Regions from separate parts of the Homo sapiens genome. Here regions 1, 2, 3, 4, 5 and 6 are each linked to region 7. Evidence: promoter capture Hi-C in 16 types of primary human blood cells and fetal thymus (Javierre and others, 2016). All regions are on one chromosome and are shown on one strand. Each heading gives the region's core, a stretch centred on a gene start or on the middle of the fragment in contact. The rest is flanking DNA. Distances are from core to core; before and after follow the strand shown. Region 1 has its middle 140 kb from the start of SSTR1. Region 2 holds the start of FAM177A1 (family with sequence similarity 177 member A1). Region 3 has its middle 3.1 kb from the start of PSMC6. Region 4 holds the start of MBIP (MAP3K12 binding inhibitory protein 1). Region 5 overlaps DDHD1-DT (DDHD1 divergent transcript). Region 6 holds the start of RALGAPA1 (Ral GTPase activating protein catalytic subunit alpha 1). Region 7 holds the start of KLHL28 (kelch like family member 28).

What was found. The method cuts DNA at HindIII sites, captures the fragments that hold promoters and counts their contacts. A CHiCAGO score of 5 or more calls a contact.
Region 1: a contact is called between a fragment that was not itself captured here and the fragment with the promoter of KLHL28 in region 7, in 1 of 17 cell types (naive CD8 T cells). The highest score is 6.7, in naive CD8 T cells.
Region 2: a contact is called between a fragment that was not itself captured here and the fragment with the promoter of KLHL28 in region 7, in 1 of 17 cell types (total B cells). The highest score is 5.9, in total B cells.
Region 3: a fragment that was not itself captured here is called in contact with the fragment with the promoter of KLHL28 in region 7 in 1 of 17 cell types (fetal thymus); the score reaches 5.6 in fetal thymus.
Region 4: a contact is called between a fragment that was not itself captured here and the fragment with the promoter of KLHL28 in region 7, in 2 of 17 cell types (non-activated CD4 T cells and total CD8 T cells). The highest score is 5.8, in non-activated CD4 T cells.
Region 5: a fragment that was not itself captured here is called in contact with the fragment with the promoter of KLHL28 in region 7 in 1 of 17 cell types (non-activated CD4 T cells); the score reaches 5.8 in non-activated CD4 T cells.
Region 6: the fragment with the promoter of RALGAPA1 here is called in contact with the fragment with the promoter of KLHL28 in region 7 in 5 of 17 cell types (naive B cells, total CD8 T cells, non-activated CD4 T cells and 2 more); the score reaches 17.8 in naive B cells.

The regions. Positions count from the first base shown.
Region 1 is chr14:38,062,729-38,066,434 of GRCh38, reverse strand. No RefSeq gene overlaps it. Among named protein-coding and RNA genes, the nearest start is that of SSTR1, 140 kb to the left of the region's middle. The HindIII fragment of the contact is 578 bases long and covers 2,061-2,638 here.
Region 2 is chr14:35,044,549-35,048,068 of GRCh38, reverse strand. FAM177A1 (family with sequence similarity 177 member A1) reads right to left here and starts at 1,797. Exons shown (of 5, transcript NM_173607.5): 1 at 1,441-1,797. The coding sequence starts at 1,605. RefSeq lists enhancers at 928-987, 1,088-1,357, 2,078-2,277 and a silencer at 1,608-1,957. The HindIII fragment of the contact is 2,045 bases long and covers 228-2,272 here.
Region 3 is chr14:52,702,231-52,705,909 of GRCh38, reverse strand. No RefSeq gene overlaps it. Among named protein-coding and RNA genes, the nearest start is that of PSMC6, 3.1 kb to the left of the region's middle. The HindIII fragment of the contact is 5,392 bases long and covers 1-3,679 here.
Region 4 is chr14:36,319,364-36,323,158 of GRCh38, reverse strand. It overlaps MBIP (MAP3K12 binding inhibitory protein 1), which reads left to right and starts at 2,522. Exons shown (of 9, transcript NM_016586.3): 1 at 2,522-2,699. The coding sequence starts at 2,571. RefSeq lists enhancers at 2,124-2,173, 2,574-2,833. The HindIII fragment of the contact is 533 bases long and covers 1,624-2,156 here.
Region 5 is chr14:53,155,462-53,159,545 of GRCh38, reverse strand. It overlaps DDHD1-DT (DDHD1 divergent transcript), which reads right to left. Exons shown (of 3, transcript NR_110062.1): 2 at 2,973-3,303; 3 at 2,018-2,384. Among named protein-coding and RNA genes, the nearest start is that of DDHD1-DT, 4.2 kb to the right of the region's middle. The HindIII fragment of the contact is 2,163 bases long and covers 1,446-3,608 here.
Region 6 is chr14:35,807,003-35,810,812 of GRCh38, reverse strand. It overlaps RALGAPA1 (Ral GTPase activating protein catalytic subunit alpha 1), which reads left to right and starts at 1,518. Exons shown (of 42, transcript NM_001346249.2): 1 at 1,518-2,083. The coding sequence starts at 1,978. RefSeq lists enhancers at 1,372-1,471, 1,308-1,868 and a silencer at 1,552-1,791. The HindIII fragment of the contact is 1,366 bases long and covers 202-1,567 here.
Region 7 is chr14:44,960,399-44,964,468 of GRCh38, reverse strand. KLHL28 (kelch like family member 28) reads left to right here and starts at 2,522. Exons shown (of 5, transcript NM_017658.5): 1 at 2,522-2,623. It overlaps TOGARAM1 (TOG array regulator of axonemal microtubules 1), which reads right to left and starts at 2,279. Exons shown (of 20, transcript NM_001308120.2): 1 at 2-2,279. The coding sequence starts at 2,047. RefSeq lists enhancers at 1,822-2,336, 1,986-2,795, 2,337-2,851, 3,366-3,455. The HindIII fragment of the contact is 5,188 bases long and covers 1,647-4,070 here.

The sequences.
Region 1 (3,706 bases), core at 1,100-3,599, 6.9 Mb after region 7:
GATAAAGTTTAATTTTTGAATTAGGCAAGTAAGAGATTAACAACAACAACAATAATAATAAAGAACAATTATACAATATACCAGCATCACTACTCTTGCACTTTGGGGCCATTACGAAGAAACGTAAGGGTTACTTGAATAGAAACACCGTGATACTTGTGGAGTCTTAATTGAGGAGAGGGAGTCAAGTTGGTGGAACTGAGGGAAAGCAAAAAGAGAAAGCAGATAAGCTCTAAGTCTGCCTTTCTTCTTGGTCCAGGATATGTAGCCCTCCTGTGCAAATAACACAATCTTCCTGTACCCAGCTATCACCAGATCCTCAGCTGACTAAAATTTAAAAAAAGTTAGTTAGGATACTGCAATTTTGGCATTATTAGAACTGCACAAAGCCCTCCTCAGCACACAGCATAAGCACCATCCTATAAAATTCCCAGGAAGCCTTTGTCTCTTTGCAGTTAGCTCCTCTCTTGCTAACCTGTCTGTAACCACTCTTGCAACATATTTCCATACTTTCTCTATTAAATCTGCCTTTCTTTACCTACAGCTGTCTTGTAAATTATTCTTACCGCCACACCACTGGCCTCAAATAGTTGCTGATCACCCATGACAACACTGATGCAGACAAACCCCCAAATTGGTGCTCAATCCAGAGGGTTCTTGGCTTCATTCAGGAAATAATTCAAGAGACAGCAGTGAAAGAAAGCAAGTTTATTAAAGATTACAACAACAGTGTACAGCAAAATGGCTGTCCATAGACAGAGCGGGGCTCTCCCATAGGCAGAATTGCCCAGAGTAGCAGTGTACAGCAAAGTGGCTGCTCTATAGGCAGAGCAGGCCAGAGCAGTAGCAGCAGTCCCAAAAAGGAGGAGGAGGAGAAGGAGGAGCAGCATCAGCGTACAGCAACAGTAGCAGTGCAGAGTAGCAGTTCCTGTAGATTGGTAGCTAGCTATGTTTATACCCACTCTTAGCTGTATACTAATTAAGGAGTGAATTATTCAGAATTTTCTAGAAAATGGGTGAGGGAGTTCCAAAACCATATAAAATAACTGCTGGGTTGTTGTCATGGCATTTGTAAACTGTCATGGTGCTGGTGGGAGTGTCTTTATGCTAATGAGCAGTGAGAGCAACTAGAGATCACTTTTGTCACCATGTGGTGGTTTCCACCGGTTTCTTCACTGCATCCTGTTTTGATCATCAGGCTCGTGATTGGTGCTGGGAAAATAAGTCCCGTTCATCTCCTACCTGAATACTGCTGCAGTCAATCTGATAACCAAGAGGGCCACTGAGTGACTAAAGGGCAGGTAGACAGCCTGGATACGCTGGACAAAGGGAGGATTCTTGTCCAGTGTGGACAATGCAAGGCAGTGTGAGATTTTATCACACTATTCAGAACAGCATGCAACTAAAACATTATTTCCAGAAATTTCTATTTAATATTATCAAACCATGATTGACCTTGGGTAACTGAAAATGCAGAAAGCGAAACTACAGATAAGGGAGTATGGCCATATAAGCAAATGATGGAGAAAGGAAAGATATTTCAATACATTTTGATGAGACAACCAGTTAGCAATTTAAACTAAAAGTATAGCTGAATTATTCCCTCACTCTTTATACCAAAATAAATTCCAGCTGATTAATTTTGAAAGAAAAAAATGAAGCCATAACTGTAATAAAGAATATATCCCAATTTTTCAAAATTCTGAAGTTAAAGAACTTTTTTAAAATCAAAACTATAAAATCCACAACCCATAAATATATGTCGATAAATTAGTTCCTATGAAGATTTAAAACTTTTCTGTTGTTAGAACCAAATAGTATAAACAAGGACAAAAGTTTTTTAAAAAGTGGGGGAGAGAATATTTGCAATATATTGAAAGATAAAATACTATTTTCCTTAAAATATAAAACTCTCAGGCTAGGAGAAGTGGCTCATGCCTATAATCCCAACACTTCAGAAGGCTGAGGTTGGAGGATCACTTGAAGCCAGGAGTTCACGATCAGCCCTAACAACAAAGTGAGACCCCCATCTCTACAAAAAACAAAAATGACACAAAGCTTTATGTAGAAATTATATATGTGTATACGTTTTATATATATGCACATATATAAAACTTCTAGAAATCAATAAGAAAAATACCCCAAATCTTTTAGAAATATAATAGGCATTTCACAGAAAAATAAACACATATGGCTTATAAGCAGATGGAAGGATGCCCAATTCTTCTCATAAATAAATGCAAATTAAGGCAAAATAAAGATAGTATTTTTTAGCTGCCAAATTGGCAATAGTTTGATAGTATACAGCCTTGGCAAGTTCGTGAGGAAACAGGAATTATCACACACAGACAGTGAATGTACACATTATCACAACTTCTTTGGAAGGGAATTTGACAGTAACCATAAAAACTAAAAATGTGGATATCCTCCAACACAGAAATTTGATTTTGAGGAATGTATCCCATCGATACTCACATGAGTGCAACTGCAATGTACAAAAATGTTTTAAAGCATAGTTATATACATAAACAAACATTGGGAGCAACCTAAGTATAATCATAATTAGACTGTTAAGTGCATGAGACTCTATTTTCTGGGTGGTTTCACCACTTACTAGTTTTGAAACCCTGAACAAGCTTCCTCAGCACTCTTGCCCCAGGTTCCTCATCTGTAAAGCTGTGCCAAAAGAAATACTGTACATGTTTCATTGGATAGTTAAGAGTAAATGAGTGAACACATAAGTCAAAAGGCAAAAAATACACTTTAGCTTAAAGATCTTAACTTGGCTTTATTTGCAAGTCCAGAATCCAGCAACAATTCATTCTATAAAGTATAATATGTGTTCCAATGAGCTGAGTAGAATAAGTTGGCTTTATAGACAGAGAGCTGAAGAAAGCAGAAACAAAGAACAAAAAGCAGACATGTTATTTCAAAGTTACTTTCCTTGTAAGGTGCAAACAGGGAAATAAAACAATAGAAAAATGACCCATTAGTTAACTTCAGGTAATCCCAGGTTACTTTTTGTTGTAAGGATTAAAGGCAGAGGGAATTTCATTGCCATGCAGATTAAAACTAACCTATTTGGGAAATTTGGTTATCTCTCTCTCCTGATTTCTGGAAAGGACACATAACAACTCAGTTTCCATGTGGTGAGTAGAACCTCAGCATGACGGACTCCATTCTGGTTTTTAGTCTGATCTCTTGGGGTCTAGTGCAGGAGCTCAGTCCAAAATAAGGACCTCCTGTAATTTTTATTTAACACATATAAAGTGCTTATGACACAATATGTGTCTCATTTATATGTGTATATGTGTATATAAATTACATACATATACACATGTATATATGTATACATATGTAAAAGTATCTACACTAGTGTAATATTAAAAAATTATGTTAAAACAGTAAAAATTCATTCTTAATATGGAAGTATCTCTGAGATATATTGTTACATTCAAACAATAAGCCAAATAACAGAGTGGGTTGTGCTCTCATGTATGTTCAAAAAGATATGTATTCACATAAAGCTCCAAAATGATCCATGGGCAACTAAAGGTAATACACCTTTCCTACAAGATACATATGAAACTGCTTGACAGTTGTTGCCCATGTAGAAAGGGTCTGATATGATTTGACTGTGTTCCCACCCAAATCTCATCTTGAATTATAAGGCCCACCATTCCCATATGTTATGGGAGGAACCCGG
Region 2 (3,520 bases), core at 1-2,500, 9.9 Mb after region 7:
TATAGAGTTTGGTATGTGGGAAAGTTGTGTTTTTTGTTTTTGGGGTTTCTTTAGTTTTTTATTTAAGAGATGGGTTCTTGCTCTGTTGCCCAGGCTGGATAAGCTTTTGTTAATGCAAACGACATCTTATACTATAAGAGATACACAGAGATATACTCACAGTTTGGGGGAAATGTCTTACTAACATTCAGGTACTTAGTCTCAAAAATGAAGCTACTGAAAAAGCTTCATTCTCATGGAGGATGGGAAGAGTTACATACATGAGCAACTCAAGGGTTTTTTTTTTGTTGTTGTTGTTGTTGTTGTTGTTGTTGCTGTTTTGAGACGGAGTCTCGCTCTGTCTCCAGCCTGGAGTGCAGTGGCGTGATCTCGGCTCACTGCAACCTCCACCTCCAGGGTTCAAGCAATTCTCCTGCCTCAGCCTCCCGAGTAGCTGGGACTACAGGCGAGCGCCACCACGCCCAGCTAATTTTTGTATTTTTAGTAGAGAAGGGGTTTCACCATGTTGGCCAGACTGGTCTTGAACTCCTGACCTCAGGTGATCCACCCGCCTTGGCCTCCCAAAGTGTCTTTTTGTCTAATACTGAAAAGTTGCAAGAAACGTTAACTCTCTAAACCAGCGCTGTCCAATACAGTAACCACTAGCCACATGTGGCTAATGCGCACTTGAAATGTGGTCAGCCAGAACTGCGATATGCTATGCGTGTAAAATGCACCCAGGATTTAAAAGACTTAGAAAAGACTCCAAAAGAGAATGCAAATACTTCATTAATAACTTTCATAGTAATTTTAGGTTGAAATTGTTTTGATAAATTAGGTTAAATAAGATATGCTATTAAAATTAATATCGGTTTCACTTTTTTAAAACGTGCCTACTGGAAAATTTTAAATTACAATTTTCAATGCAGCTTGCATTCTATTTATGTTGGACAGCGCAGCTCGGAGCCTTAGTTGCCTCGGCGGTGAAATGGGGCTAACACCCACCTCGAGCGGTTACTGTAAGGATCCAGTGAATTAAAGCTGGTAAACGTTTGGCATATGCCAAGCAAAGGGCAGATGCCCAGGCAGGCGCTCGCACCAGAAGAGACTGAGAAGTGGTTGAAGCCGCCCTCACCTGGCTTCCAGCTACTGCAAGGACAGCCTTTGGGGGACACGCCTTTCTTCTTCCTCTGGTAGACCAGAAGCTGGACTATCACCCCAGGAACCCGAGGCCGCCCCAGAGTCTGCTGTGCTGCCAGCCAAGGGGTTGGTGAGTGAGGCGGGGGGCGCTCCTTCCCACAAGCTGGTCTCAGTGAGCAGAAACAGGGGTGCAGTGAGGAGGAACTCCAAAGCTGGGGCGGCCTGCTCGGAGGACGGCCGCGCAGGCTAAAAGAGCGGCCCGCGGAGAAGGCAAGGAGGCGGCTCGGCTCCCCGGACGTCAGCCTCGGCGGCCCCACCTACCTGCCCTGCAGATTCCCCGAATGCCGCGGCGGCCGCAGCTCCCGAGGCTGCGACGGCTTCTCCTCGTTCCACACCGCCCACTGGCTCCTGGTCCATCGTCGTCGCCACCACAGGGCTGCTGGCGCTGGTGAGAAAGAGGGTAATGGCCGGTAAGCCCACTTCCATCCTTGGTCTCCCCGCCCAGTCGCTGGCCGAGCCAGGCTGTCGGGAAGTGGGACTCACCCGCCCAGCGCCCGCCTCGCGCCGCGCCTAGCCAAGTCTCTGAGAAGGGGACTCGCCGGCCTGAGGGGCGGGGCCAGCCCGCGCCTCGCCTAGCCCGCCGGGCTCCGCACCCCGAGAGCTGGCCAACTGCAGTCTGGGAGGCGCAACTACCGGCTCGCGCGGGGCGGGGCGGGGCGGGGCGGGTCCTTGCGGGGCGTCGCTTCCGGCCAAGCAAGCATCCAGAGCTCGTGGATCCCCGCCTGGCACCGCCTGTGACGTCATTTCTGGTACGTGTACCTGAAGCCTGGCGTCTCGACCTCGGCGCAGCCCGTCACCAGCGGCGTCTGGGGCAGTCACCCCGCAGGACCTCGGTTTTTGCACTTGTAAAATGAAGACAGCTGTGTCGTTGTACTTCAAAGGCTAGTGATGGGATGTGGTTGCTGAAAAATGTAAAATGTACGGCTCGTGCTGCACTTTCCATTCCAAACGTGGGTGACAGTCCAGCCAAAATACCCTCGAAAGAAGAACCCCAGGCGTGATATTTGCTTACTCTTGTCTGAAATACTTAAGTATAACTGTAGAAAGTGTTAAGTGAAAAGACCTGAAGGAGAGCAAAGGGCAGTAGTAAGCTTCCATCTTGACAAATGTAAGGAATGTTTTATCTGTGTCTTAAAGTCGTGTGCGTATGTTAGAGGGGGCGTCCCAGATTTTTTCCGTCTTTCGCAATGTTCAACGAAAGTAAAAAATCATGCAATTACTGCATGACTTCAACATCAAACAAGTCTGAGGTTCTGCAGGTAAATGGTATATTGTTGTTTTAGCATGAAAGTTTTCACAAATATGTAGGGGGCAAAACCAAAACATACATTATTTTGGCTATGGGAGGCTTCATTTGATACTTTAAATTCCATTTTCATACTAGTCTCAATTCAGAAATGCTCCCTAAAGTTGTATGACCTTGTAAATGTTTTTCATCATAGCAACAGCAGGCCCAAATATTAAATATTCCTTTCTCTTCTGTGCCAAAGTTCTTCTCCTTACCCTCTGCCTAATGTTATTGTACACTTCCTATTCTATGTATAACTGGAACCTAAAAACAAAACCAAAAACTTTAAAAAACAAATAATCATTTGAAAACCATCTACGCCTTAAAAACTAGTTGGAAATCCATATTGCTCTCTATCCTGGTAATAAAATCAAGTTAGGTTGCTGCTGAAGTAAACAAGTTAGTACCTGATCTGACTCTGTATGGTGGCATCAGCAGGGAGTTGAGACAGTCCAAAACAGCAAAACCAAACTCGGCCATAAATTGAAAACAAAAATAAAGAACCAATTGTTAAGACTTCATGAATTGGCATTCATAAACAACACAGTTCTGCATTATATGTATTCAAAATCTCTTCCTTCTTACTGGCAAGCAGGGCAATCAACAATCTTTATTACTAAAACTTTGTGGGATATTTATAAATGCATGATTTTATTTTCCAAAGTGGCAATTAAATATCAAATTACAATTTTCTTTTTCTTTTTTTTCTTTTTTTTTTTTTTTGAGATGGGGTCTCACCCACGCTGGAGTGCAATGGCGCAATCTTGGCGCACTGCAACATCCGCCTCCCGGGTTCAAGCGATTCCCCCACCTCAGCCTGCCAAGTAGCTGGGATTACAGTTGTGCACTACCACGCCCGGCTAATTTTTGTATTGTTAGTAGAGACGGGGTTTCACCATGTTGGCCAGGCTAGTATCGAACTTCCGACCTCAGATGATCCACCCACCTCAGCCTCCCAAAGTGCTGGGATTACAGGCGTGAGCCACCACGCCTGGCCTCAAATTACAATTTTCATTGCCGAAGCAGAATATATTTTCACAGTTTACATGTGTA
Region 3 (3,679 bases), core at 858-3,357, 7.7 Mb before region 7:
GGCGCCCGCCACCACGCCCGGCTCATTTTTGTATTTTCAGTAGGAATGGGGTTTCACCATGTTGGCCAGGCTGGTCTCCAACTACTGACCTCAAGTGATCCGCCCGCCTCAGCCTCCCAAAGTGTTGGGATTACAGGCGTGAGCCACGACGCCTGGCCAACTTTCAGATTTTTGTGATTTGGGGAAAATTACATACTCCCTCAATATCTCTGTAAAATGATCATAATAATTGCACTTATCTAATGGGGTTGTCATGAGTATTAAATAGGATAATGTGCCTAAACACAACATCTGCCACATGGCATGTACTCAATAGTGTTCTTTTGAATAGATATTTATTTTAAGGGTAGTAATGACTCCAATTTTTGCATTACAGGTCCTCATTGCTATACCTCTTGCTATCATTGTTCCTGGGGACAATTAATTGTTGTCCAAAAAACATGAGTAAAATTCTCCAAATAGATTCCATTTGGTCTCACCTTATCCAATGGCCATGAATGTTTGAGTTTAAATATATACATCCTAAATATACAAATAAAGTACAAATTTTTGTAAATTAATGACCCAAAGTCACATAAAGGATGCCTTCAAATTTATTAGGAACAATTCTCATGGGTATTGTGTGAATATTCCATTCTATTTTTCTTTTTTTTTTTTTTTTTTTTTTTTTTTTTTGAGTTGGAGTCTTGCTCTGTCGCCAGGCTGGAGTGCAGTGGCGCGATCTCGGCTCACTGCAACCTCCACCTCCCGGGTTCAAGTGATTCTCCTGCCTCAGCCTCCCGAACAGCTGGGATTACAGGCGCACACCACCACGCCCAGCTAATTTTTGTATTTTTAGTAGAGACAGGGTTTCACCATGTTGGTCAGGCTGGTCTCGATCTCCTGACCTCGTGATCCGCCCGCCTCGGCCTCCCAAAGTGCTGGGATTACAGGCATGAGCCACCGCGTTCGGCCAATTTTTCTAAATGTGACTGGGTTCTTGCAGTATACAATGAACAAGGAAGCTGTATGGGGCAGGGATAGTCCCTTCTCCCACTCAGTTGCAACTACTCTGGTCAAACTAGTCCATCCATACCAAAACATGTCACCTCTGACATCAAGAAGTAAAGAAGAGAGGACAAGGCAGAGAAAGAAAGCTCAGTATGGCTCAATTTAAAATATTTATGAGCACATACTGATAGGTTATTTTAACATTAATCACATCAATATTTTAAAGTCCCTTAACCCTTGTTCTTTTTCTTTTACCCATCTGGCAGCATTTCAACTTCAGAAGAATCTTCTATTTTCCCCATGCCTACACTAGCCCTGTTACTTTTTTGTTTGTTTGTTTGTTTTTTGTTTTGAGCAGGAGTCTCGCTCTGTCGCCCAGGCTGGAGTGCAGTGGTGCGATCTCGGCTTGCTGCAACCTCCGCCTCCCGGGATCAAGGGATTCTCCTGCTTCAGCTTCCAGAGTAGCTGGGACTACAGGTATGCGCCACCACACCCGACTAATTTTTGTATTTTTGGTAGAGATGGGGTTTCACCATGTTGGTCAGGCTGGTCTTAAATTCCTGAGCTCAGGTGATCCACCCGCCTTAGCCTCCCAAAGTGCTGGGATTACAGGTGTGAGCCACCGCGCCTGGCCGTTACGTTTTTATACATGCCTATAAGACTGTATTCCTCTCCATCTGAAAACGTAGCTCAACTTGTAATTATATATTCTTAAACGTGATTAAATGTTTAGAGTCTTTTCTCTGCAGTGGACTGTAACCCCTCGGAAAACAAGGACTATGACTATTTATTTCCCCTGATTGGATCCCCAGTGTCTAGCACAGTGTCTGAAATAAAAGAGATATATGTATATTGAATGAATGAATATCTCAGGCACTAAGATAGGTAAGCAGAGTTATAAAGAGGCTAAGAAATGTGACCAGTACTCAAGGAACTTAAAATATCATAAAGTGAAAACAGAAAAATACAAATGTGACCAAAAAATGAAAATTAGAACATATAGGGTGGAAGAGATAAAAGAAGGTAGGGCATATCTTAGTTTATTTCGGAGTCATTAAAAGTGATGTCATAACAAACGGTAATGAGATTGATGTAGACCTTCAAAAATCATGTAAGGATAGTTTCTCAATCTATTTTCCTATAACTTGGCACAGATGAGTGTGGTCATTTTAAAATATGTACACAAATTATTTGACACTTTCCACTTCAAGAGGTGGAGCATAATTCCCCTTCCTTGGACCTAGTGACTTGCTCTTGATAAATAAAGTGGAAGTGACAGTGCGCAACGATGGAGACTAGATCACAAAAAGTGTTGAGCCTTCCTTTTGACTCTCGCTTGGATAACTCCCTGTGGGAGAGCCAGTTGTCATGGCATGAGGACACATCAACAGATCTATGGAGAGACCTACATAGCAAGGAACAGCCATCCAGGAACTTAAGGCCTCCTGCCAACAGCCATATGAGTGAGCAGTTCCTGGCAGAGATCCTCCGGCTCTAGGCAAGCCTTTATTACTGCAGCCCTAGTATTGATTGCAACACCATGAGAGACTGAGTCACACAACTCAGTTCAGCTGCTCCTGAATTGCTGGTCCCTAAAAACCATGAGATGATAAATGTTTGTTGTTTGAAGCCACTTAGTTTTGGGGTAATTTGTTACACAGTGATCGATAACAAATACAACAAGAACAGATTTATTTTTAAGAGAAAAATTGGGAAACAGTGTCAAATAGGCAAGTAGCAACTACTTTTGCTCCCACATTGGCCACAACACTTAAGTTTTTAGAAATTTTTCATCCCAAATGTCTACTTCCAAATACCTATGAAAATGCACTTAAATTAGGCCAGGCGCAGTGGCTCACACCTATAATCCTAGCACTTTGGGAGGCTGAGGCGGGTGGATCACAAGGTCAGGAGATCAAGACCATCCTGGCTAACGTGGTGAAACCCCGTCTCTACTAAAAAATACAAAAAAATTAGCCGGGTGTGATAGCGGGCGCCTGTAGTCCCAGCTACTCTGGAGGCTGAGGCAGGAGAATGGCGTGAACCCAGGAGGTGGAGGTTGCAGTGAGCCGAGTTTGCGCAACTGCACTCCAGCCTGGGCGACAGAGTGAAACTCTATCTCAAAAAAAAAAAAAAAAAAAAGAAAAGAAAAGAAAAAAAGAAAGAAAATGCACTTAAATTAATGTGTCTGTGTCTAAGCAGTGAGATGTTGAGGTAGGAATAGAAGTTAGAGTTCAGGCCGGGCATGGTGGCTCATGCCTGTAATCCCAGCACTTTGGGAGGCCGAGGCAGGTGGATCATTTGAGGTCAGGAGTTCAAGACCAGTCTGACCAACATGGTGAAACCCCGTCTCTACTAAAAATACAAAAAAATTAGCCAGAAGTGGTGGCACATGCCTGTAATCCCAGCTACTCAGGAGGCTGAGGTAGGATAATTGCTTGAACCTGGGAGACAGAGGTTGCAGTCTCTGGAGCCAAGATCTTGCCACTATACTCCAGCCTGGGAGACACTGCAAGATTCCAACTCAAATAATAATAAAAATAAAATAAAAAAATAAATGAAGAAGTTAGAGTTTCTAGGCTTCTGGGGTGTGCTTTTAATAAAGTAATACCATAAAGAGAGCTTTTAAAAAAAGTACTAAAGATTAAATTGAAAAAGAGGTGCCTATTGTCTCACTTTTCTCTAATCC
Region 4 (3,795 bases), core at 641-3,140, 8.6 Mb after region 7:
TCACCATAAAAGACATTTTTGTTGATAAGGTAAATAGCCTAGATTTCATTTATAGTCTCTATCCTCCCAATTGATTCTTGGCATAAGCCTGCTGGACAGTATTTCTAACTCTGTTGCTAACGCGAACACCAACACTTTGAATCATTTCTGCCAGGCAGCAGATTTTTCAGCAACCCACTTTATAAACTGTAATTAGTTTTCCATAAAGAGCAAATTATTCCCTTTATTCCCTTTCTAAATTTCATAGCGCATATTATACTTTTGTTATACATACATACACACATACAATATCTACAAATTTCTATTTTGAGTTGGCCCAAAGGAATCCAAATCTTTTCAGGCTACAAACTCTTCTATTTAAAATAGAATTTTCTATTATAAAATAAGAAAATGAGAAAAATTTCCAAAATGAAGGTAATAGGCATCAAGAAGAGTAAGAAAGGTCCTTAGAAAGAAGAAAGAATGCACAAAAGAGTTAACAAATTTTAAGTACTACTGGTTGAGTATCCCTTATCTGAACTACTTGGGACCAGAAGTGTCTCAGATTTCGGATTTTTTTTAGATTTTGGAATATTTGCATATATATAATAAGCTATCTTGGGGATGGGACCCAAATCTAAACACAAAATTCATTTATGTTTCATGTATACTTTATACACATAACTTGAAGGTAATTTTATATAATGTTTTAAATAATTCTGTGCATGAAACAAAGTTTTGACTACATTTTAACTGTGACCTGTTATGTCGGATCAGGTGTGAAATTTTCCACTTGTGGTACTGGCACTCAAAAAGTTTCAAATTTTGGATCATTTTGGATTTTGAATTTTCAGATTAGGAATGCTCAACCTGTACCTAAGTAAAGAATACTAAGATACAAGTGCAGGTCTGGATATCAAATCACAGAATTACATGGAGAAGCAATACACAGATCAAATGGCCATCAGTTAATTCTGTATTAGAGGCTCAAAAGAACAAGTAAAACTTGAAAATTCAAAATCAATGATGGCAAAGAAAGGAATAGCAGCACCTTGTTAAAGACAACATTTTTTAAATATACAAAGCATATTCCCAAATGTGTTGCATATCAGTGTTCTCCATATTTGAAAAAATATGAAACACCTCAATGAAAACAAATGATCTGAAACTGATTGCTAATTTGGTACAAAACAAAAACTTACAGTTACCCCATTACCATGCTTGAATAAGAAGGTTGCTCAATTTGAGACTGGACATTGTGAAGTATTTTTCTGCCTGTAGAAATAGGCTGGAATGTCAGTTGTATATCTTGCTGCCAACAAGGGAACAGAAAAGATTTCCCAAGATTCTGTCAAGCCTGGTGATCCCATTTGTCTTTGGAAATGAAAGCCTAATTAAGAGACTCCCTAGGGACAGGTCAAAGGAGTTTTTATCCCCATCGTCCTTATCTTAGTTCCTTGATGCATTAGTCCTTCCCTTTAATTTAGTCTACCCTAAAACTAAAGAATACACATTGTGCAAGTTTCCACCTTTGCTTTCTCTACTGTAAATGCATTAGACTATTAACAGAATTACGAGTTTTAAATCCCACCTTCCTTATCTCTAAGCTGATGTTGATTTCTTAAAGTGTTTTTGAATAAAGCTTAACACTAAAAATTATTGTAATACTTTAATTGGATAACACTTTTTAAAAATATCGGAGTCTGACTAAAAGATTACAAAACCCCACAAACATCGTTATAATAAAGCTATTATGATAAATAATACTTTGTAAAATTTGAATTCGGTTTTATGTCCTAATTTCAAAGATTGTGGTTGCATGATATTATTTATCCAGGTTAAATTCCTGTTGGAATTATATTGACAGTGTTTCATTTCTTTGAAACAATTTTAGGGTTAAGCGTCTCTACAGTTAAAACAGAGAATATCAACTGTAGTCCCAGTTACTCAGGAGGCTGAGGCAGGAGAACCGCTTGAACCTGGGAGGCGGAGGTTGCAGTGAGCCGAGGTAGTGCCACTGCACTCCAGTCTGGGCGACAGAGTGAGACTCTGTCTCCAAAACAACAACAACAAACTTGAAGAGATGAAAATGTTCTATCCAATCATGATAATTCCGTGTGAGTTTTCCAATGTTTAGAAACACGTGTGGGCACCACTCCATCCCTGACCAGCAAGCTTCCTCCAGACCCACTCCACACCGCCATGTTAAAATGTCAACTTTTACTTTTTGGACTCAAACTACAAAATTTAACTATGTCTCCTCTTACCAAGATTCACAATGAACACCTAGGAGTCAAGGTAGGCTTCATAACGCTAAAGAGACCACGACTCTAATGACCACCCCAAACACAGCATTCCAGCCTAGCTGTGGTCTGCAATTACCCACTTCAGAGCCTCGGCGCAATGTCACAGCTGCAACTGATTGGTGTAACGTGCTTGTCATTCACATAGAGAGGGTGGGGCCTCAAAGCCCGATCTAAACCAGACTCCGTGTCTTACGTCATCGCCAAGCGACTAAAGCTGGAAGGGAGGGGGCGGGGTTGTGAGCAAATCTTGGTGGTGGTGGTGGTGGGGCGGCCTGAGAAGATATCATGGCTGCTGCCACGGAGCTTAATCGCCCGAGCAGCGGTGACAGGAACCTGGAGCGAAGATGCAGACCCAACCTCTCCCGAGAGGTGCTCTACGAAATCTTTCGCTCCCTACACACCCTGGTTGGACAGGTGAGAGGTGGCCTGAGGGACTGGGAATATGGAAACCATCCGGTCCCTCCTCGCCATTCTTTTTCTCTAGCAGAGGCCGGGGGCAGCTAGGCCTGCAGAGGTGTGGGATGCGGTCCCGAAGCCGAGGTGTGGAAGGAGCCCGGGCCCAGCCTCCTCGGTCGGAGTGAGGAGGACGGCGGTACCGGTTGCAGAGTCGTTTACCTTGCAGCTGTCCTCCCCAAGAGTGGGTGAGGTTGGCCTAAGTGAAAACCCGGCTCCGAGAGAGGCAGGCTTGGAGAGAATGAATGTGGAAAAGCTTCACTGCGAGTTTAGGAGGCGCTTAGCGTTCAGGGTCCTTTTTCCTCCAACTTACTCTTTATGGGAATTGGTTGGTCAGTAGGCCTGAGATTTATAGAAAAGCGCGCGCTTATTAGCTTTTTTTGGTGGGGGAGGGAGTAATTTGTTCTTATGAGTTACTTGGTTTTGTTTATTTCTTTTTTCCTTCGGGCTGTTTTGCGCATCTATAATCCTTTCAAATGGGGAGAAAAGTAAAAGGAATTCATTTAAAATACTTCTAGCGTAAAATGCTGTTGGCGTTAGAACTGTCGTTATTTAACTATTAACTAGTTTAACTGGCTGATAAATCGCTTTTGCAGAAATGTCATAGTAAAATTGGTTTTAAATTGAAATGGGCTTCTTCGATCAAGTCACTGTTTCGTTTCATGGTGTAAAATTCAAGTTTTAAATGAGAAACAATTTAAAAGTATGCTTGTTTACCTGCCTTTTAAAAGGAAATATTTTCTATCTTACATAGACCATTTTCTAGCCGTAAAAGTTTGTTTTGGGGCTGGTACTAGCGCAAGTGGACAAAGCAGGCATTTGTGTCAAAGATAATGGTAAATTCCTATGAAAATAGAACATTTGTCTGATTTGTGAAAATTATTTTTAAAGCCTTGAGTAGATGGAGAATCAGTCTTTTAAGAAGTTACTATTTTTAAAAATCGTAGTATGTTGTGTCTTACAAAGAACATTACTGTAAGTTAAACGGTTTTATGAAATGACGCAGTTATTAATGGAGTCTGCTTAAAGATATAACTTTTAAATTCAGTTGTTTGCC
Region 5 (4,084 bases), core at 1,278-3,777, 8.2 Mb before region 7:
TATTTTTAGTAGAGATAGGGTTTTGCCATGTTGGCTGGAACTCCTGAGCTCAGGTGATCCACCTGTCTCGGCCTCCCAAAGTGTTGGGATTACAGGCGTGAGCCACCACACCTGGCCATTTCTGTTGTTTTAAACCATGCAGTGCAGCCCTAGGAAATGAATACACTGTTCCTCTATATCTTCTAAAGGTTTATAATTAATACCTGTCTCTCTCTCTCTCCTTCTTTTTTTTTTTTTTTTTTTTTTTGAGATGAGATATCAGTCTCACCCAGGCTGTGGCATGATCTCGGCTCACTGCAACCTTTGCCTCCCGGGTTCAAGCAATCCTCCCACCTCAGCCTCCTGAGCACCTGGGACTATAGGCACACCACCACGCCTGGGAAATTTTTGTTTTTGTTTTTTGTTTTGTTTTCGGTAGAGACAAGGTTTTGTCATGTTGCCCAGGCTGGTCACGAACTTCTAGGCTCCAGTGATCCTCCTGCCTCAGCCTCCCAAAGTGCTGGGATTACAGGCATGATCCACCTGGCCCAGAGGTTTATAATTTCTAACCTGAGAAGTACAGTCATATGAGTGATCAAAGTTTATAATTGTTAACCTCAGAAGCAGAGTAATATGAATAATCAAATGAAGGACTATTTGTGAGTTCTTACAGATGATTAAGAATTAGTATGAATCTGATGTTCTAAACTTTAGAAGTGAAGGAGTCACAAATGCAGGGCCATTGTTACTAATTTCTCATATTTAAAATATATGTTGCTGAATCTTGAAGATAAAATTTCTGAAGAATTTTGCTTTTCTACCATGCCATTTACATTTATTAATGGTATTATCCTAATGGCTATCTAGTATGGTTCAAGTAACCCAATGGGAGACCCACAAAAAGAATTTGGGAGCTTGTGAGTCTAGAATCATATATATGTATATATAATGATTATTATATGTATGATTATTATATATATATATATATTTTTTTTTTTTTTGAGATGGAGTTTCGCTCTTGTTGCCCAGGCTGGAGTGCAGTAGCATGATCTCGGCTCACTGCAACCTCTGCCTCCTGGGTTCATGTGATTCTCCTGCCTCAGTCTCCCGAGCAGCTGGGATTACAAGCACGCACCACCGCGACCAGTTAATTTTGTATTTTTAGTAGAGATGGGGTTTCACCATGTTGGGCAGGCTGGTCTCGAACTCCTGACCTTGTGATCCACCCGCCTTGGCCTCCCAAAGTGCTGGGATTACAGGCGTGAGCCACCGTACCCGGCCTAGAATCATATTTTATTCAAGCTGAAACTTTAAATGAGTTGCTGACTTATGATGTAAGGATAAACATACTTTTTTAAGCAGCAGTTGCAAAAACAGTAAATCAATTCTGCTGTTCAGTCTTTTAAATGCTCAGCAAATTACTGACAGTTACATTAGTGGAAATAAATCCTTATTGGAACAAAGCTTCTCTTTTCTTTCCTTTTTAACTTATATATGACAATACACATACGCAAGGTGCTGCCTCTAAGTCTTGCTCAGCACCATATTATGATTATCAATTACTTTTTATTGAAGGCTCATATGAGTCTGTGAACAAATATGTACTTTCAACTTACCTGTGGAGGTAGGAAAAAATCCTAGAGCGCAGAAGTCATTAAATACATCTACAATGGGTGCATAATGTGGGCCTCACAGCAGCCAATAGCTATGGCCCAACTCACTTTTCTATAATGAAAGGGCAGGAAGATGGCCAAATCTGTCTGATATAAACAAGCTGATGAGGATTTTGTGGCTGCCTCCACAGAGTATGCATCAATGTTGTATTGATTTATACTTTCTTTCATTTGAATATATACCTTCACCACCACTGACCTTTATTTCCAAAAGGAATAGAAAACATTTTTATAGGGTTTTGGTAAGTATGGTTTTGTGGATAGGCCTCTTATAAATCTTTAAATAAATGCATTTCATAATTCTAAATTTTAAGTGTAATTTCAGTTAAAAATAAAAACACAATAGCACTAGACAATAAATATTTGTTGAATGAATAAATGGAAGGATTAATGACTTTATTCATCATGAATCCCTACGTTATTTCTGCCCACCTTGCTTCCTTTGGATTGTAATTTGATTTTGTTTATTGATCTGTCTGTAGGGAGAGAATGACCCCATGGTAGTGATGCAGCTATAGTGGCATTACAATTATATTCCTCATAGGAATTTAAAAGTTAGCATTTTGGTTTTATTTATAGACACCACTAGACTGTGAATGCTTCACTGTAGAGCCTAGCACAGTGCCTGAAATGTCCAGCGAATGTTCCCTGCTTCAGTCTAGGTTGTTGTTTCATTTGGTCAGGGCATCAGATAAAACACTCTCATCTTTAAAAACCAGATAAGTAGTAATCCTAAAAATAAAAAGTGAAATAAAATTTAAGTTGTGGTGGATGGCTTATCGAACACGAGATACAGCAGATGGGGGCATGGTTATGTCTGCCCTCTTTCTTTCATTCTAAATAGGGGTCTTCCATCATACACTTTGGATGAAGCTATTTCAAGTGCAGGTGTGGGATGTTGGCTCAGGATAAATTACTTGGCATCAAGCATTCCCTAATGTTACAAACGTGAAGACAGGTTAAAATGAACAACATGGTGGCTTGTGCCTGTAATACTAGCTACTGGGGAGGCTGCAGCAGGAGGATTACTTGAGGCCAGGAGTTCAAGGCTGCAGTGAGCTAGGATTGGCCTACTATACTTCACCCGGGCAACAGCAAGACCCTATCTCTAAAATAATAAAATGAATAACAGGGACAAACTTTAAGAAAAGAAGAAAAGGGAAAGACAGCACACAATTGCACGAAAACATCTTTGAGACGCGGGAGGAGATGGCCGTTGTTACCAGATAGCTCTTGCCATATGCCTAATGGGGACAGGAAGGTGGTAGGATACACAGACGAGCTGTTTTAGTCTTTTGTAGTACAAACCAACTGGCTTACCTTTTTTTTTTTCTGCACACCAATAACTCCGTCAGGCTTGATTCCACATGCACCTGTTTCTTGCGGCAGCATGGCCCAGTAATGCCAGAAGTCTGAATCAATCACACTTATTTGCCTTATGTGAAAGAGGCCTTGTCTTGCGTAATTATTAAAATACAATGGAATGCTTTACATAGAGCCATGGAAGTTCAGATAATGCTGTGTCCATTGTACACACTAATGATGTAGAGTGGTGAGGAGCCACCTGACACCTATTCTGGCAGGTGGGGACTAGAATAGATGCCCCAACCCATCTCCCTCTGGTCAGGATCATATTACCTGAGAAGATGATCTAGAAAACAAAAGGAGAGCAGGAACAGGAGGCATTAGATAAAACATGACTTTTTAAAGCAGAAAAGTTGAGAAAAACAACATCATGACCTTTGCCTTGCTATGATGGCTAGGGAGTAAAAAGGAAATAAACACATGCAGTCACATGAAGTTAGATATTGTGCTCTCAAATATCTTCTGAGCACTGTCAGCCTGGGACCCAGTATATGGGTCTGCCATAGCCCAAGCTCACTTCCAAGGGGCAGAAGCAATCTCAGCCCACAAATGTTGATTGACATCTCCCCTCAACAAGGTCTAGACCAAGCTTGCCCAACCTGCAGCCCATGGGCCATATGCAGCCCAGGATGGCTTTGAATGTGGCCCAACACAAATTCATAAACTTTCTTAAAACAGTACGAGATTTTTTCGTGATTTTTTAAGCTCATCAGCTATCATCAGTGTTAGTGTATTTTATGTGTGACCCAAGACAATTCTTCTTCTTCCGATGTGGCCCAGGAAAGCCAAAAGATTACACACACCTGGCTCTAGACCAAGATAACCAGGTCAGCAGAGAATCTAGGATTCCCTTCTTCTGCCACCTGGGTTGTGTTGAGAATCAACATTTCCTTCAAAAATGATCACTCTACCTAAAAGGAGTGTGGCATTTCCCCAGTGAACCACAAGAGGATAATCTTCTCAAAATAACCAAATAAGCACACTTAAAAGTAATAGAAACATTCATTCAATGCAAAGCAGAAAGTACTTTTTTTTTTTTTCCAAGACGGAGTCTCGCTCTGTAGCCC
Region 6 (3,810 bases), core at 269-2,768, 9.2 Mb after region 7:
CAAGTGAAAAACAGAATGTCTAATTTAGGTCTATGTAATTCTAAAGATCATGCTTGAAAACATTGTATTATTGCCTAAATTTCACGAAACTGTGAGGGACAGACCTTATTTTGATTTTATTAATAAGAAAACTGATGCTGAGAGGAACTAGAACTAAAATCTCTTGAACAATCCCCTTATTTTTCTATTATGTTATAAGCTTCCTCAAAACATGTATGGCTTGTAAGTTTGATGATACAAACAAACCCTACATGTAGAAACTGAATAAATTTTTTGTACTTTAAAAAATATAGGATTGTTGTTGAAACAAACTACCATTAAGCAAAGCACTATATTTTAACATAATTTTGGCAAATGTCTTACATCTCTCTTCTTTGCTGATTTTGTTATTTTTCTATGTTAATCACATATTTCATTGGACAAGTCTATTGCTATGGGTGAGAACATAGAAGGAAACAGTTCAAACAAGCAAACTCACTCTTTATCAAATTATTTTGTGGAGGAAATGTTCCTGGCCAGGCGCAGTGGCCTCACGCCTGTAATCCCAGCAGTTTGGTAGGCTGAGGCGGGCGGATCACTTGAGTCTAGGAGTTTTAGACCAGTTTGGGCAAAATGGCGAAACCCCGTCTCTACAAAAAACACAAAAATTAGCTGGATGTGGTGGCGCGCACCTGTGGTCCCAGCTACTCGGTAGGCTGAGGTGGGAGCATCACCTGAGCCTGGGAGTTCGAGGCTTCAGTGAGCTGAGATCACACCACTGCACTTCTGCCTGGGACACAGAGACCCTGTCTGGAAAGAAAAGGAAAAAGGAAAAAAAAAAAAAGGGTTCCAATAAAAATTTCAATTTATGTCATTCAGAATTTCACGGATTTTTTTCAGCTATTGCAGATTCTTCAGATGACTCCATCAATGTAATAAGAACCTTGAATTCTTCTTTGCAGAGGAAAAACTGACAATATATTCATCTTTATGTGGGGTGCAGATGGGGAAAAGATTTTTAAAAGCACAATAGAAAAGGAAAGCAAGATTACTTTTATTTAAAAAACCTAGATACCTCTGCTTAAGCCTTTCTGTTGTCAAGTTGTTTGCAGCAAAAAACAGGGATATTGCAAATAGAAAAAATATGAAAGAAATCACATACATAGTGCAGGAAATATTATTAGTAATAGATTTAGGACAGAATAAATTGCCCAACTGTAACTTCGTTTATCTTTCTGCTAGAGGATCTGGTGGCCACAACAACTTATGCACATTTTCAAAGATAAATCATGGACATATTTAATAAAGATTACTTCTCTTTGCTTATTACTATCATTTGGCTTACAATGGAGCACGCAGTAACTACCTTCCTTGCCTTTCTTGAGATTCTCCTTTGGCTGCTTACACAGGAAACCAAGGCGGGGAGTGCCACGGGTGATCTCATGCTGGCATGACGTCAAGAACTCTTGACGTCAGAAGGCGGTTGCCACGGACACCGTTCGCCACCGACGGCAGAGTCGTGAAACCCCATCACTACCACACTCGTCTCCGTTTCGGCCTCTGCAGGGTGTAAGCTGCTAAAGAAGCTTCAACCTTAAGGGGGCCTCAGGGAGAGAGTTGTGCTCCTGCCGCCGAGAGCTCCACCTTCGTGGCTCTGGGTCCGGGGCCCCGGCCTGTGGCGGCGAGCGGCGGCCGCTGGAGACGAGCGGCGGCGGCAGGCGGCCAGCCCGGGTCTGCCTCGCTCCGTGCAGGGCCGGGAGAGGGATCCGCCATATTGGAGCTGGGGCCGAAGGTGCCTTGGAGCCGCGGCGCGAGGCGGGTGGAGGTGGCGGCCCTGGCCTGGATCGGGAAGGAGTCGGCTCTGCCCTGGCCCGCAAGGCTGGGGAGCTAATGAGCCTCTCTGGCTAGTCTCCTCCCCGTCCACTCCCTCCACTTTCTGCCGCCGGGACCCGGCTGGGAGCCGGCTGTGGCAGTGGCAGTGGCAGTGGCAGCGACAGGATGTTCTCCAAGAAGCCGCACGGGGACGTGAAGAAGTCCACCCAGAAGGTGCTAGACACCAAGAAGGACGCACTGACTCGCCTCAAGCACCTGCGCATCGTCATCGGTGAGGAGCGAGGGGTGGCAGCGCCGAGGCCTGGGTTGCCCGGCCTTCCCTCTCCTGGGAGCCCCTGCGGACTCTCTCTCGGGACCTGGCGCGGTGCAGGAGAGGGCAAATCGTAGCCTCTGCGGAGACGCGGGAGGGTGAATAATTCGGAGAAGCGAAAACTTGGCAGTTGGCAGCACTGATTACTGTTAACACAGTAATCTAATTTTGAGTTAATAGTCTGAACTTATTTTTTAAAATTGGTATTACTCTAAAAACTTAGATCTTTAAGACTTTGTGGGGAGACCTGGCGTTGTGGATAATGGTGTTTATAGGATATGTTTGCCAGATGACTACTGCCAACCCCACCCAAGTAAAAAGAAAAATAAAATCCTCTCTCAGACAATATAAACCTTAATCTTTCAAGTTTCTTGGCAGATGAAGACAAGGAGGTAGCAGTTACACCTCTTTGGGAAGTGGGCGGTTCCCAAAAAGCTGTGGGAAGGAGCCCCGCCCTTTTGTTAATGCACCTTGTTCATCACTAGTCATTTAGAGGGAGAACTATTATAGGTAGTTTAACTCATCCTTTGCTTCTCGAGAATTGTATATAATTCTATTTTTAATTAAAAATATTTTTTTTATCGTCTGCCCTTAAGTTCTGTTTTGCTGGTAGACCAAACAGTGCTCTAAGTTTTGAATATAATGTTAATCGACTCTTTTGAATACTTAGTCATTTGGTAGGCTGATAAAGGCTGTAATAATACTTATGGAACATCTGGTCCAGTAGTTGGATTTTTTAGATGAAGACATTTGAGATGAAAAGGAAAATTATTTCGCCTGTGTTGATACTTAGAGTTAATGGTGGAACTGGCTGAAGAAGATGCATTCATCCAGATGCCTGAATCCTAGTTCAGAGTTTATCTCGAGCTGTCCTCCTGATGCGTATTTGTTTTGGAAAGTGATGTTTATTTAGTGAAAAAAGTAAGTCCCTTATTTGAGGTACATGTTTCTCTAGTCTATTGTTTACTCATACCACCAGGATACCACCAATATTACCCAACATTTCTATGATGCTTTACTGTTTACAGTGATTTCACGTAAATTATGATAATCCTTGCAATAACTCTATAGGTAGATGATATTATTCTCCATTTTTTACCAACAAAAAAGCTGAAGTTTGGGAACATCGAGTAGTCAGCCAGCTACCAGGAGGCTGAGTCAGAATTGGAACCCAGATTTTGTGTCTCTAGTTTGTTTTTTTACTCTTTCTACATTTATGACAGCTAATCTTTGTCACAAGTAAATTGTATTTATTCCAGTGGAGTAGTAAGAAAGCAGTTAATCCAGTTTAGCGCTATAAAAAGCTCAGTTTTCAAGAAAATGTAAAGCTTCTAAATATAGTGGAGATTGTGATCTTTTTGTTTTCATTCTTCTTGAGAGTTAAGCCATTGAAATAAAGATTTAGCCGAGAATAGGACACAGTAAGTTAATGTGTGAATGCAGGCGAGGGATTCACAGGTAATGGCAGTTTGAAATTGAACACTTAATGGAGCTTGACACCTACTTGGGATAAGCTGTAGGTTAGGTAATGACACAGCTATAAAGTTGAGTTCCAATAAAGTATCGAGATTTCCTAAATTAAAGGCCATACTTTATTTATAGACTGGTTAAGGAATTATTTATATATACTTTTTTGGCATAGAGTTTTTTTCCATCTGGCAGACATGGAAAATTAAAAGGTAAATTAA
Region 7 (4,070 bases), core at 1,273-3,772:
CCTGCTCTATATCCTTGGAAGTGGAGGTCTGGTTTTCTCCCATGATTCCAGGTTGCTCATTTTCCCATGGTAATTTATTTTTTCCTTTTCCTGCACTTAATACCCTTCGGGTACAGATAGTTGGGCTGTAAGATCCATAAATGTGCATGCTATCCCTCACGTGGTCACCACAGTGACAGTGTGCACTCTGAGTTCTGTTACCAGCCAAAAGCCAGTCCGTATCTGCTCCATGTGCCAAATGGTTTGACCTACCCCCGGCAGAAGATGGCATCAGTACTGCATATTCCACAAATCCCTGCTCTGTGAGCCTTGGTAAGGTTTTCCTAGCCAATCTGGCCTGCACAGCATTCATCACTCCATCTCCATTATCTTGCAGTTCAACTGTATCCACAGCTTTAAAAAGGATGCTGGTTTTACCTGAGCCCATTGATGATGCCAATACGGCAAAAGCTTCTAAAGCTGCTTGGCGTACCCTGCGTTTGCTATCTACAAGAGCTGGGGCAAGATCAAAGGACAGTTTGGGCAAGTCAAAATCCTCACTAGGATAGGTCAGCAGGGAGCAGATGCAAATGTTCACCACCTCCTCTCTCACTCTGGAATGCTTATGTTTGAGATGTTCCAGGAGTAAACAAAGCACCTGCTGAGGTCCTACTTCCTTCATTAGCTTGAGGAAGATTTTCATGTATTCTTGTTTGATCACCAACTTGTTGTCCGCCAGCACTTTGACAGAAGCTGCTATAACTGGTCCCAAGAACTGCTGTACCTGCTCTCCAAGGCGAATAACCAGTAAATGCAGGACTTCAAGTGTGCCATGCACCACTTTGAAGTTAGAATCGTCTAACAAATTATATAGCAAACTAATGAAGCCAACAAGACTAGAATGAGGAGTAGAACTAGGGTTAAATTTTCCCAGCACCTGCTTTAGTTCTTCGACGGCCTGGGTCCGGTTCTTATAGTCTTCCTGATCCAATAATCGTGAATGCAGCTCCTGAGGAATAATCCCAAATTTAAGATTGCTGTTGGAAAGAGTCACTGCACAGGGAAGGGGATCTTCAGGAAATCCAGAGGCTTCAAGTTCCAAATAATAAGGAACCTGACTTCCAAACTGGGACTCCAGGCGGCGATTGTAGTGTCTCCTCAGGGCAGAGGGCAGACGAGAAATGTAAGATTGAAACCTGTCTTGGCCAAGTCGCTCCCCAATTTGTTGAAGTGCGGAGAAAGCTGTCTCAGATTCTTCTTCTGTCTCCTGATCACCAAGCTTTCGGGCTAGGGATATTATCACCTCGGTGAGATCCAGACCAAGCAACAAGTCCTCAGTAGTAAGCAAGATGGGAAGCAGTAGTGCTGTGGAAGCTCTAAGTCGGGCATCGGTACTTTCCAGTCCTTGTTGTATAAGCGTTCTCAGCACCTCTCCAGGACTACGTTTCAGACATATATGAAGGATCTGCAGCGCATCTTTCCGCAGGGCTGGATTCTCTTCCCGTAACGAGACAACTAGTTGAGGCAAAAGTGCTAAGCTAAAGGCCTCTTCAAGCTGGCCTGCCTCCCCCTGACCCCGGAGAACGTCCGAGAGAAGTTGCAAGCAGAGCCGCTTCTCATCACTACCTCCTTCCACAAGCACTCGGCCCAGTGCCCGATACAAAGCTTCCTTGCGTCGGGGGAAGCCAAGTCGACCGCCCCGCCGCGGCAAAGCAGCTTGCAAAGCCTGGAAGGCCTCAGAAGGATCCCGGGCAGTGCGGAGGAGTTGAAGGAGCCGAGTGTCCTCTTCATCTCCCCCTGACAAACCGCCTCCAGACTCAGACCAGCTGCTTGAGACTGCCTCCGAGGGCATCAAGAGGGCCGAGGCCAGAGGCGAAGTTGTAGTGGGGCAGGAACCGTGGTCCCCCGCAGCTCCACGGAAGTAGTAGTTTTTCTCTCCTCTCATAATGCCCCCAACTCGACTATCATCGGTCTCTGGGGCGGAAGGACGACTGCGGCTCTGGAGCCGATAGGTAGAGAGGACTGGAAAGGGCGGCAGCAGAAGCAGCGCGGAGGGGGCAGCCGCCATGCAGGGTTGTCAGGTGGTGGTGGTTGGAAGAAACCATTGCCGTCTCCAAAGGGCTCGATGGAGCCCAGACTTCCAGATCCTCTCCAAGCCCCAAGCTGCAGAAGAGGCAAAAGAACAGCTTCAGCCTGCCGCCAGGCCGCCCCCAACTCCGGGAGGCAGCCTCTGGCAAAATGGCCCCCGTCTGAGCCCTAGACCCCACAGCTGCCACCGGGCGTAACCAAGGGCACCACGTGACCAAACCGATTGCTTCCATGGTGATGTACCCAGCGCGGACCTCTTGACCCGGAAATCCACTTGCCGTGATGAATGCTGGGTTATGTAGTCCACGTCAGGTGTTGAGACTAGGCCAAAGTCTCCTGGAAGAGGAAGTCAGAACGTTGTAAACGCAGCTACAGCGGAGAAGGGAGGAGGGGTGAAGCCATTTGACGGATGTGACGCTTTCCTTGCTCTGGGCGGAAGTTGCCCGCCCCACCCGTAAGAGTTAGGGTTTGACCGGAGCTAGTGAGGATCCAGCCCAGGCTCCAGTTGTCCGCGGTTCCTCCTCCTGTCGCTGCCCGTGTGATTACTGAGACTCAGGTATTTTCCTTTTGCTGTCCTCCAGCGGTGCAGGCTTTGGCAGTGTTTTGCCCGAATGCCACTGGTGCTAGAGTAAGAGGCAAAGGACTGAGCGGAGCAGGTGGAAAGAGAGGCGACATCTTCTTGTGCAGGGCTCGTCACCCTTGTAAACGCGTTACTCTCTACCACCCTGAGTAACTGCGATCCTTTCCTCTTGCCATCTGCTTATCAGGACAGAAGATCTGGACCACGGCCAAGCTCACAAATCGGGTATTTTTTTTCAATTCCTGGTCTTTGGGGCCTTTATTCGCCTCCCCCTTCTCCTTTTGTCGACTTCTCTTAACCCTCCGGCCGCAGAGGGTTAATTTTTTTTTGTTTTTGTTTGTTTGTTTTTGGCAACGTTTCCTTACCCTCATCACTTTGCGTTTTCTTTACAACGTACATAATATGGAAATAGGTCTGTTTTTTTCCCCCTGTAGCTAACCGCCTCTCCCTTAGACGTTATCAAAATCTTTCCTTCTAATGCAGTTCCTCTGTGGGACTCTCCCCTAACCTCCGCCCCCTCCGTCTGCCGCCCTAGCCTCCCTGCAGGATCCTCAAGCGTCTCTGCAGCCTTTCAGTCTCCTAGAGACAGAGATTGCGAAGACAATTTCACTTGCGGTGGAAGTTCTTGGCATCATGGTTCTAAGAGAATTCTGCCTTGTGGATTTAGGAATGATAGTAGACATTTATTTATTTTAGGCGAACTGAGAATTTTGTGTGCATTTTCTCCTCATAAGTGATACTTAAACGGACACAGTGGAAGAGCTGGAGTGTCTAGTGTGAGCCTGAATGCTTTGGAGTGTGGAAGAGATATTTTTTTTTTTTGAAGGAATAATACTATTACTTTTGAATGACTCGTGCGAAAAGTCTAAGTTATCATTTGAAGACCCAAATTTATGCACTTCAAATGCAAGTATTCCTACCCTGCTCTGTACCAGGTGGGATTTCTCTTAAATACTTTTTAAAGTCTTGGAATAAATGAGTCACATATGCCAAACAGCTTTATAAATAATGCTCCCAGCTGATGCAAGTGCAAAAATAATTTCTGGATTTTTGCCTTAAAGTACGATTTGAATATCAGTTTTGTTTTGTTTTGTTTTTGGGGGGGTGGGGGTGGGGAATAGACTATAATGTAAATGAGGCTGTGTAAATATACATCCTATGTTTTGGTTTAAATTCTAGGCTGTTACTTTGGTTTTAATGAGCCATTTTCGTGTTTAAATGAATCTGCCTAAATTAGGTTTAGCTAGCATGTTTCATTTTAGGGACAGGTTAAAGACAGGGAGGTGAAAAACAAGAAATGATTGTAGCAGTTGTCAATGAGAAAGTGTCTGGTTCTCACAGTTCCAACCTAAGAAGCTCAAATGTGTAGACTTCTAGTCATGTATTGCCCAGACTTGAGGAACCCAGTTCAAACTAACCTAGA